Linked DNA regions of Homo sapiens: region 1 is linked to region 2. Evidence: promoter capture Hi-C in human tissues and cell types (Jung and others, 2019). All regions are on one chromosome and are shown on one strand. The core of a region is centred on a gene start or on the middle of the fragment in contact, and the rest is flanking DNA. Distances in the headings are between cores, read along the strand shown. Region 1 overlaps TMEM222 (transmembrane protein 222). Region 2 holds the start of GPR3 (G protein-coupled receptor 3).

Region 1 (5,917 bases), core at 1,795-4,294, 65 kb before region 2:
CAAGAGGGAGTGAGGGGGGAGATGCTACACACTTTTAAACAACCAGATCTTGGGAAAACTCACTATCACGAGAACAGCACCAAAGGGATGGTGCTGAACCATTTATGAGAAAACCAGCCTCATGATCCCACCACCAGCCCCCACCTCCAATATGGGGACTACAGTTTGACAGGAGATTTGGCGGGGACAGATCCAAACCATGTCACCTTCAAAGGACTCACCTCCAGCAGGAGGGAGAGAAAGGTCAATTAGCCATCGTAGTATTACTGTATAGTGATGATTGCAGAGCTAGGCATAGATGTGGCGCAAGTAACTGTCACCTGTCTTTGGAGGAGAGATCAGAGGAGGAAATGGAACCCAAAGATCTGTCTACCCCCTCAGAGATGTTGGTAATTCTGCATGAAAAACCAGTTTAGTGCTCGCCTCAGCAGCACATATACTAAAATTGGAACGATACAGAGAAGATTAGCATGGCCCCTGCGCAAGGATGACATGCAGATTCGTGAAGCGTTCCATATTTTTGTCTCCCTGGACTTCGAGCAGGAGATGGCCACTACCACATCCTCCTCCCTGGAGAAGAGCTACAAGCTGCCGGATGGCCAGGTCATCACCATCAGCAACAAGCGGTTCCAGTGTCCGGAGGCGCTGTTCCAGCCTTCCTTCCTGGGTATGGAATCTTGCGGCATCCACGAGACCACGTTCAACTCCATCATGAAGTGTGACGTAGACATCCGCAAAGACCTGTACACCAACATAGGGCTATCCAGAGGCACCACCATGTACCCGGGCATCACCGACAGGATGCAGAAGGAGATTAACGCCCTGGCATCCAGCACCATGAAGATCAAGCTCATTGTGCCCCCAGAGTGCAAGTACTCTGTGTGGATCAGCGGCTCCATCCTGGCCTCACTGTCCACCTTCCAGCAGATGTGGATTAGCAAGCAGGAGTATGACGAGTCAGGCCCCTGTATCGTCCACCGCAAATGCTTCTAAATGGACTGCGAGCCGATGCGTAGCATTTGCTGCATGGGTTAATTCAGAAGTATAAATTGGCCCTGGCAAATGCATATACCTCATGCTAGCCTCACGAAAATGGAATAAGCCTTCGAAAAGAAATTGTCGTTGAAGCTTGTATCTAATATCAGCACTGGATTGTAGAACTTGTTGCTGATTTTGACCTTGTATTCAAGTTAACTGTTCCCCTTGGTATTTGTTTAATACCCTGTACATATCTTTGCTTTCAACCCTTAGTACATGTGGCTTGGTCACTGCGTGGCAAGGTAAGAATGTGCTTGTGGAAGACAAGTGCGACTTGGTGAGTCTGCATGGCCAGCAGTCTCCGATCTTTGCAGGGTATTAATATGTCATGGCTGAGTGTTCTGGGATTTCTCTAGAGGCTGACAAGGGCTCCTGAACCAGTTGTTTCTGTCCTGCTGGTCTGTCAGGGTTGGAAAGGCCAAGCCATAGGACCCAGTTTCCTTTCTTAGCTGATGTTTTCCTGCCAGAACACTGTGGGCTGTGACTTGCTTTGAGTTGGAAGCAGTTTGCATTTACACCTGTAAATGTATTCATCCTTTTAATTTATGTAAGGTTTTTTTTTGTATGCAATTCTCGATTCTTTAAGGAGATGAGAACAGATTTTGGTTTTCTACTGTTATGTGAGAACATTAGGCCCCAGCGGCATGTCATTGTGTAAGGAAAAATAAAAGTGCTGCTGTAACCAAAAAAAAGGGAAAAAAAAGAAACTAGTTTAATAGCTGCTGCTACTAATAAAAACAGCTAAGATTAGATGCTTACTCTGTCCTAAACATTGTATGTTCACTCACTCAATCCTAATGTCAACCTATGAAAGTAGATACTGTTGTCACCATTTTATAGATGAGGAAGTAAGGCTTAGAAGCCAGTGTGGTGCTCTTTTGCTGAGTTAGCCTACCTTCCCAGATTGAGCTCCAGGATGAGTGAGTCATTTATTCATTTATTGTATCTTTATAAAGCACCTATTATGTACTAGGTCCTGAATAGAAGGTAGTCCACAAAGCGGCTCTGGAGCTGCCTTCCTGGAGCTTCCAGGCTGACAAACCACTTTGAGGGTTTCTTCTCTGGGGCTTCCAGCCTTTACTCTGATTTCCATCCACTGCTGCCAGCACAGCTGTGGCGTGTGGAATCCTGGTTGGACCCAGACTTCCTCCCAAGCAGATGAAAGGATTAGGGGGCAGAGATGGGGGTGGAGGGCAGTCCTGAGATCAGGATGAGCTACTTTCCCATAATCCTGAATGTCCATCCTGTGGCCTGTGGATCTTCTGCAACTTATTCTATGTTAGTGCAGTCAGTCAGATAGTGCTTATGTATTGAACACCTCGAGATGACAACATTGAGCAGCTGCCAAGCGGAAGGCAGAGTCCTAGGCACTGTGTAAATGGATAAGTCTATCCATTTAATCCTCACAATAGCTCCTCATTAAGGTAATTTTTACTATCCACAGAGAGATGGGAATTAGTAACTTGCCCAGAACAAAGGCAAGCCTCAACCCAGATGATATCTGAGCATGACTTCACTGTTGGCGTTTGTTTGTTGTTTTTAATTTTTATTTATTTATTTATTTAGAGACAGAGTCTTGCTCTGTCACCCAGGCTGGAATGCAGTGGCGTGATCTCAGCTCACTGCATCCTCCGCCTCCGGGGTTCAAGTGATTCTCGTGCCTCAGCCTCTCGAGTAGCTGGGATTACAGGCACATGCCACCATGCCCATCTAATTTTTGTATTTTTAGTATAGACAGGGTTTCGCCATGTTTCCCAGGCTGGTCTCGAACTCCTGACCTCAAGTCATCCACCGGCCTCTGCCTCCCAAAGTGCTGGGATTACAGGCGTGAGCCACTGAGCCCAGCCTTGACTCACTGCAGCCTCAACTTCCTGGGCCCAGCCTTGGCTCACTACAGCCTCAACTTCCTTGGATCAAGTGATCCTCCAGCTAATTTTTAGATTTTTTTAGATACAGGGTCTCACTGTGTTGCCCAGGCTGGTCTCAAATTCCTGGGCTCAAGCAATCCAACTGCCTTGGCCTTCCAAAGTGCTATGATTACAGGCGTGAGCCACAGCACCCAGCCCCAGACTCTACTCTTAAATGCAGGATGTTCATTCATTATTTAGTCAACAAATATTTAGTGAGTTGCAGCTATATACAGGCACTGCCGTAGTAAACAAGAAAAAATCCTGTCTCTCTTGGAGCTTATGTTCTAGTGGAGAGACAGCATATAAATAACCAAGATAATTTTGGATGGTAGTAGATACTATGAGGGAAGTAAAGCATTGTAGTGGGATCTGGGATTGGGTGGCTGTGCTGGAAGACACCGTTCAGGCAAGACCTCCGAAGGTGACAGTGAGGCTGAGGCCTAATCAGTGAGGAGTCAGCTGTGCCATGCTCTCTGGGAAGAGTGTTCCAGACGGAGGAGAGGGCAGATACAGAGAAAGCATGGGGTGGGAGGATTTGGCGTGTTTGAGGCCACAAGCAGGCAGTGTAGCTAGAGAGGGGACTGAGATGAAGTTCAAGGGATAATTAGCACCACAGTGTTGGAAGAAGTTCGAAGTGTATTATAAGTGTAGTAGGAAGCCATTAATAGGTGTTGAACAGGGGAATGATGGAATCTGAGTTCAATTCTCAAAAGACCACTCTGGCCCTACCATTGTCTCAAGCGCTCAAGCTGTAGACCTGGAAGACCCCCATCCTGTCAGTCGTAAACTCTCCAGTCTTCATTTGAAAGATCTTTTGAATCCATGTGTTTCTCACCACCCTGCCCCTGATCCTCTAGTCAGGACCTCCATCATCTCTTGCCAGTGGTACAGCAGTAGCCCCTGAGCTGGCCTCTCCCCCTTTCGTTCTTCCAGGCACATGTACCACTTTCTTGCTCTGCAGTGTTGTTTTCTGCCTGTTGATGTTGTGTCCTTTCACAGGTCAAGGTTAAAAGTCACCTCCTCTGTGAAGTCTTTACTGGCTCCACCCCAGCCCCCTGTAACTGCTTTTTTAAACTGCGTCTCTGGAGGCTTGGCCTGCACCCCTAGCCAGGTGCTTTATGCTCGTGCCCAGGCAGCATTGAGGCCAGGACTCGGCCACTGGCCCTGTGAGTTCTCCTTAAACTGGATCAGTCTCTCCAGCACCCAGGTCCTGTAGGGCCATGGTTCTCAGAACACAGACAGGTCTGGGGTTCCTATGTGTGACATATTGGGGTGCATCTGAGATTTATTGTTGTTTTTTAATGCCCATGGTTTATAAAAAAGGAACTTTTATTTCCTGGCATACACCATGCTTCTGTTCCAATTTCTACCCTTGCACATTCTGTTTCTTTGTTATTTCCTCAGGGAAGCCTTTCCTGAACTCCCCCACCCATACTGGTGTCATGACCGCCCACCTTTTTTTTTTTTTTTAACTTTCTTATTGAGGTATAACTTATGTACCAAACGGTGTGCGAATCTCAAGTATACAGCAGGAAGAATTTTTGCATATCACACACTCATGTAACCGCCACCCAGACGGGGGCTAGAAAGCAATGCTAAGACCCAGAGGACCCCCTTGTGCCCTCCCAGTCAGTTCTACCACAGATTCCACCCCGCTGTGGACCTCTAGCCATAGATCAGTCTTGCCTTTTCTTGGACTTCACGTAAACAGAGTGCTATGTTACGTACTCTGTGTAAGATTTCCTTCATTCACCCTTATGTCTGTGAAAGCCTGTGTTGTGTGTAGCAGAAGTGACACTGTTTTTCATTGTTATGGACTATTTCAATGTATAACTATACCACACTTATTCATCGTACTGTTGTTGAACATTTGGATTCTTTCTAGTTGTTTTTATCAATTTTATTGAATTATAGTTTACATATAATAAAATGTACACATTTTAAGAGTACAGTTCAATGAGTTTTGGCAAATGTTATTTCCCAGGGGTGAGGGCAAAGAAGGTTCCAAAAGTGAAACTGCTGAGGCATTTAGTATAGTGCCAAACTGTTTTCCAGAATGGTAGAAACAGGCCGGGTACGGTGGCTCACGCCTGTAATTCCAGCACTTTGGGAGGCCGAGGCAGGCAGATGACTTGAGGTCAGGAGTTCGAGACCAGCCTGGCCAACGTGATGAAACCTCATGTCTACTAAAAATACAAAAATTAGCCAGGCATGGTGGTGCACTCCTGTAGTCCCAGCTACTCGGGAGGCTGAGGCAGGAGAATTGCTTAAACCCAGGAGGCGGAGGTTGCAGTGAGCTGAGATTGTGCCACCGCACTTCAGCCAGGGCAAGAGAGCGAGACTCCATCTCAAAAACAAAATGGTAGGCCGGGTGCAGTGGCTTATGCCTGTAATCCCAGCACTTTGGGAGGCCAAGGCACGTGGATCACGAGGTCAAGAGATCGAGACCATCCTGGCCAACATGGTGAAACCCCATCTCTACTAAAAATACAAAAATTACCCAGGCGTGGTGGTGCACACCTGTAGTCCCAGCTACTCAGGAGGCTGAGGCAGGAGAATTGCTTGAACTCGGGAGGCGGAGGTTGCAGTGAGCCAATATTGTGCCACTGCACTCCAGCCTGGGCGACAGAGCGAGACTCCATTTGAAAAAAAAAAAAAGGTAGAAACAGTTTATCCCTCCCACCAGCAGTGAATGAGAGCTCTGGTTGTCCCTTGCCCTCACCTGCATTGGTGTTGCTGTCGTTTGAGTTACAGCCATCCTGGCGGGATGCTGAGGTATCCCATTGTGCTGTCGGTTTGCAGTTACCCTTGTCTGTGCTTCCCCAGCCTTCTGGACCACCCTAATGGCCACCTGTCAATGAAACGTAATATTCACATGCTTCTGTACTGTATGAAGGGTCCCCAGCGTCCGTCTAACTGGCTGAAAGATCCCCTAAGCTCTGTCCCTTCCCCGTCCTTTTCCTCACAGG
Region 2 (5,756 bases), core at 2,391-4,890:
CACTTTTGGTGCGTGAGGGAGAGCACATGAGGTTCACGTGAAAACCCATAGCCCCCCTTTAGTCTCTTGGCTCTCCTGGGTTTCTCGGGGTTAGAAATGTCACTGCATGCCGGGTGCGGTGGTTCATACCTGTAATCCCAGCACTTTGGGAGGCTGAGCAGGGTGGATCACCTGAGGTCAGGAGTTCAAGACCATCCTGACCAATATGGTAAAACCCTGTCTCTACTAAAAATACAAAAAAAAAAAAAAAAAAAAAAGCTGGGCATGGTGGCGGGCACCTGTAATCCCAGCTACTTGGGAGGCTGAGGCAGGAGAATCGCTTGAACCCAGGAGGCAGAGGTTTCAGTGAGCCGAGATTGCACCACTGCACTCCAGCCTGGGCAACAAGAATAAAACTGTCTCGGAAAAAAAAAAAAAAGGAAAGAAAAGAAATGTCACTGCACTCTCTTTTCCTCTCTGGCTGCCTTAGGATCAACTTCCCTTGCAAACAACAGGATAACTATCAGGATCAGGAAGTTCATGACCAATACTTCAGTGGAAATGATGGTCTTCCGTGTCCTTCACCCTGGGAAGACAACAATACCTAAGACAGAAAACTAGTCAAAAAGTAGAAGACCACTCTGGATTTCATCTTTGTATTTAGAACCCATTTTGGGCTGGGCACAGTGGCTCATGCCTGTAATCCCAGCACTTTGGGAGGCCAAGGTGGGCAGATCACTTGAACCTACGAGTTCAAGACCAGCCTGGGCAATGTGGCGAAACCCTGTCTCTACAAAAATTACACGCCTTAGCCAGGCGTGGTGACACGTGCTTGTAATCCCAGTTACTGTGGAGGCTGAGATGGGAGGATTGCTTGAGTCCAAGAGGTTGAGGCTACAGTGAGCATTGATTGCACCACTACACTCCAGCCTGGGTGACAGACTGAGATCCTGTCTCAAAAAACAAACAAACGAAAAAAAAAGACAGAACCCATTTTGGTGGTGTTAAGACAACTGGCTTGGTTATGATTTATGATTCCTTGGATTATGCAAAGAAAAATTAATCCAAACACAGACTTGCAAGACATAAAAGAAAAAGACCTCAAGAAAACAGCTAAAGGAACTCAAGAACAGAATGACGACAGCCAGGGAGTCACAAGAGTGTGGTGCTGGTGCTGGCAAACAGGAATGGCTTTATCTGCAGCAATGGTGAAGATTTTTCACCAGAGGATCAATAAGCTACGAAAACTTAAAAAATATATAATTGCCATTCAGAGTAGTAGAAGATAGTCCCTGATACCCCCCTTTGATGCCAACCTCCCAGCAGCCTTCACCCATCGCAGAGACCAGAACTCTGTAGGGACCCAGCTCTGATGGGGGAGTAAATGGATCCCTGACCCTGAGTCTTGGGGCCCTGATGCCCTTGGATCCTCTCTCTGACACCCCCACCTTCCTGGGCACCAGGCATATTACTATTCTCTCTGTTTTCCTTTTTTCCTCTGGTTGTTCCCTTTTAGGTCAATCATCCAGTCCATGATTATTTCTTCAATACCCATTACATATCAGGCACTGTTCTCTAGCAGAAATGGGACATAGTCAGTATCCTCTTGGAGCTTAGATTCTAGTGGGGCTGACATGTAGTAAAACAAACAAACATGAATTCATTTATAATTTCAAGAGTGCTTCATCCTCCAAAAATGAATAAATCAAGAGAAGGGGAGGGAGAGTGATGGGGAGGCCAGTGGCGATCTGAGAGTTCAGAGCAGCCTGTTTCAGAAGTAATTCGGGAGCAGAGACCTGGATGAAGAGAAGGGTTGTTGTCAGAGGGGTCAGGTGCAAGAGCCCAGGAGGAGGAGCCCCTGAAGCCACTCCTCACTCTCTGCTCCCGCCCCTGGGTGACATTATTTACCCCTAAAACATCAGTTGCCACCTGCATGCCTACACCTCCCAGGTGTCCCTCATTATCCAGCTGTAACATTGATGGCCAATGGCAAGTAGAACCCACTCAACAACCCCATGAGGCCGGTACTAATATTATCCCTGTGTTTTAGATGAGGAAATAGGCACAGAGAGCTGAAGAAACTCTCCAAAGTCACCCAGCTAGGAAATGGAGAAACTGAGATTGGACACTTCCACCCCCTAAGCCCCCTAAACTCACCACATCCAACCTGAAATGAATCCTCTTCTCCAGCTCCGACCCCCTCCTCCTCCCATGTTCCCTGCCACTTGACCTTCTGCTGCCTCACACTCAAACCCAAAACCTGCCTGGTGGAGGCTGACCATGGGGGCTGCAGTGATGGTGCTGTGATGGGGGTGTCCAGTGGGGCCTGGGATCCTCAGGCCTCTTAACCTCATCTTCCCCTCCCACAGGCCTGCATGATTCCAGGGAGCATCAAGGCAAGAGACACAGGGAGAAGGAGCAGCCAGTCCCCCTGCCGCAGGACTGGCCACATCTGTCACATCTGGAGAAGTCTGCCCAGAGTGGTTCCCCTGGACTAAGGGCAGATGGCGTTGGGGAAGAGGGAGCTCTTTCTCCTTGCTCCACCCATCAGGATGCCTAAAATAGGAGGCTGAGAGGGGCCTGCCCTGAGGACTGAGCTGCCAGGCTTTCTGCTTCCAAGTTCTTCCCGGCTCCCCATCTCCTCCTGCTTCAGGGAAGTGCACCCCTCACCCCCTCCACGCTGGCTTTCTAGATACTGGAATAAATAATTCAGGTTTTGAAATCTTGCCAGGCCCACCCCTCCGGTGCTGTGAGGGCGCTATTGGGCTGACATGAGTGACGTCACCCAGCTCTTATCCCAGCCCCGGCATCACGGGACTTGCCCTGGCAGCAACTTACCTGCCTGGTCACTGTCAGTCCAGACCCTCTACCCTGTGCCCCTCACCCTGGAGCCCACTCACCACAGCCACCTGCTATCTTCGTTCCAGGGCCCCACAGTCCTCATGGCTTAGCATTGTCGCTTCAGTACCCCAGCCATTCTGACAGGGTAATGGTGACCTGAAGTCACCTGGACACTCCATGTTCCCAGGCCGCTGCCTCTGCCATCCCGGGGTCCCTGAACTCCCCCCTGCTGCATAGTCACCCTGACACTGCCATGGTTGCCCTGAGGGCTTCCCCTCTACCGTTAGCGTCCCACGGCCATCACCCCCCACCCCAAGATTCTGTCACCATGCTAATGTCGTCACTGCCACCCACCTCCCCGCTCCCTCGTGCTCCCTGTCATCGTCACCTCAGGGCCCCATCATCTTGGAAACCCTGTCATTCTCACCAGGGAAGCCCAACCAGCCCCATCACAAGCTCTTCCTTCGTCACCTGGATCTCGTCAGCCTCTCTGCCACCCAAGGGTCCCATCACCCCACAGCCTAGCCGGGCCCCCTTTCCACTCTTCCACCACGTTCCCTGCAGCCTCTCTGAGACTTCAAGGCTCTCGCACCGGCGCCTCTGAAACCCCCGGCCCGCAGAGGGCGCCGCGTCAAGGACAGCGCGGGCGGACTCGGGAGGGGGCGGGGCCGCAGCCACGGTCGCTTTTTATGAATGGGGGAGCGGGCGGTGCGAGGCCTTATTACTATGCCGCGCAACGCGCGCTGCGCCCCAGCGCGCCGCGCCCATTGGCTGATCGGACCGCTGACGTCACCGAACCGGTGGCCGGGGGCGGGGCGGGGTGACTCACGCCGCTTCTCCCGCGGCCGCGGGGGCTTCTCGGGGTCCACGCACGCCCTGCGCCGCCAGGACCCGAGCGGAGCCTCCCCGCGGCCCGGCCGCGCCTGGTCCTGAGCGGTGAGTAGCGGGCCCCGCCGCGGGCACCAGGGGTCCTGAAGGGCACGCAGGATGCTGGGGCACTGGGCCGGCGGAAGGCTCCTAGTGGCCGGCCGGGGTTCGAGTTCGAGGTGGGAATTCTGGGTTTAGGCGATTCTGGGTTAGCAGGCTTGGGCCCAAGTGCTCGAGTGCTGGGGTTGAGTTGGATGACCCGGCGAAGGGTAAGCATTCCTGCAGGGACCCGAGGCCCTGGAGGGACTGATGGTCATCTGAGGTTAAGCCGGCAGGAGGCGTCTGGGGCAGGGACCCAGGGGTCCGAACAGCAGGAGGTGTCCAATTTAGGAATCCAGGTATCCAGGCAGGAGGCAGAGTCAGGCCCAAAATCCAGGTGTCCGGGCAGAAGGAGGCATCTGACTCAGGGATCCAGTCTTCCAGCAGGGGGGTCTGCCCAGAGACCTAGAGATTCAGGCGGAAAGAAGGGTCCAGCCAGGAACAGAAGTCTGGGAGGGTGGGGGGTGGGGGGCTGAGTTCCCAGGTGTTACCGCGGGAGTGCGGGGTGATGGCTGGCGGGAGCTTCACGCGCATTCCCTGGGGGCGGAGTCTAAGGCTGGCAGTACTGAAAATCGTGAGGGGTCTGGGAGCCTCAGGCACGAGCTAGCATCATCATCTCTGATGGGAGGGAGCGGAGCTGCTCAGTCTCCCTGATGGGGTAGATGTTTCCCTACCCCAATCTTGAGCCTTCGGGGGCATCCCCTGGATCCTATGGCCCTCTTCCACTTATAGTACCCCTTCTTCTGTCTCTCCTCTGGTCACACACGTGGGAAAAAGAGACCTGCAGGACCTAGGACAGGGATCCCCAGGAAGAGACCCCTGTTTAGAGGCCTGGGGGCATTGGAGGGGACAGCGGTATCCTGGGAAGAGCCCCAGGGCATGAATGTGGGGATAAGGCATTGGGACCCTATCAGGTATCCTGAGGAGAGACTCCCACCACGTATCCTGAGAAGCACCTCACCCCCTCCAGACCCCAACTCCCATCACCCAGCTTGGTCAGCTTCTCACAAGGCCTTTCTCCTGCAGGTACCATGATGTGGGGTGCAGGCAGCCCTCTGGCCTGGCTCTCAGCTGGCTCAGGCAACGTGAATGTAAGCAGCGTGGGCCCAGCAGAGGGGCCCACAGGTCCAGCCGCACCACTGCCCTCGCCTAAGGCCTGGGATGTGGTGCTCTGCATCTCAGGCACCCTGGTGTCCTGCGAGAATGCGCTAGTGGTGGCCATCATCGTGGGCACTCCTGCCTTCCGTGCCCCCATGTTCCTGCTGGTGGGCAGCCTGGCCGTGGCAGACCTGCTGGCAGGCCTGGGCCTGGTCCTGCACTTTGCTGCTGTCTTCTGCATCGGCTCAGCGGAGATGAGCCTGGTGCTGGTTGGCGTGCTGGCAATGGCCTTTACCGCCAGCATCGGCAGTCTACTGGCCATCACTGTCGACCGCTACCTTTCTCTGTACAATGCCCTCACCTACTATTCAGAGACAACAGTGACACGGACCTATGTGATGCTGGCCTTAGTGTGGGGAGGTGCCCTGGGCCTGGGGCTGCTGCCTGTGCTGGCCTGGAACTGCCTGGATGGCCTGACCACATGTGGCGTGGTTTATCCACTCTCCAAGAACCATCTGGTAGTTCTGGCCATTGCCTTCTTCATGGTGTTTGGCATCATGCTGCAGCTCTACGCCCAAATCTGCCGCATCGTCTGCCGCCATGCCCAGCAGATTGCCCTTCAGCGGCACCTGCTGCCTGCCTCCCACTATGTGGCCACCCGCAAGGGCATTGCCACACTGGCCGTGGTGCTTGGAGCCTTTGCCGCCTGCTGGTTGCCCTTCACTGTCTACTGCCTGCTGGGTGATGCCCACTCTCCACCTCTCTACACCTATCTTACCTTGCTCCCTGCCACCTACAACTCCATGATCAACCCTATCATCTACGCCTTCCGCAACCAGGATGTGCAGAAAGTGCTGTGGGCTGTCTGCTGC

Evidence for each region. Contacts are between HindIII fragments. The study calls those that stand out against the background at their distance.
Region 1: a contact is called between a fragment that was not itself captured here and the fragment with the promoter of GPR3 in region 2, in 2 of the 25 tissues and cell types used here (bladder and spleen).

Annotation. Positions count from the first base shown.
Region 1 is chr1:27,324,804-27,330,720 of GRCh38, forward strand. TMEM222 (transmembrane protein 222) reads left to right here. Exons shown (of 6, transcript NM_032125.3): 2 at 5,917. It also overlaps the pseudogene ACTG1P20 and the pseudogene RNU6-48P. Among named protein-coding and RNA genes, the nearest start is that of TMEM222, 5.6 kb to the left of the region's middle. The HindIII fragment of the contact is 5,020 bases long and covers 535-5,554 here.
Region 2 is chr1:27,388,982-27,394,737 of GRCh38, forward strand. It overlaps GPR3 (G protein-coupled receptor 3), which reads left to right and starts at 3,641. Exons shown (of 2, transcript NM_005281.4): 1 at 3,641-3,756; 2 at 4,813-5,756. The coding sequence starts at 4,818. RefSeq lists enhancers at 2,257-2,793, 2,794-3,330, 3,868-4,403, 5,232-5,756 and a silencer at 3,345-3,844. The HindIII fragment of the contact is 10,052 bases long and covers 1-5,756 here.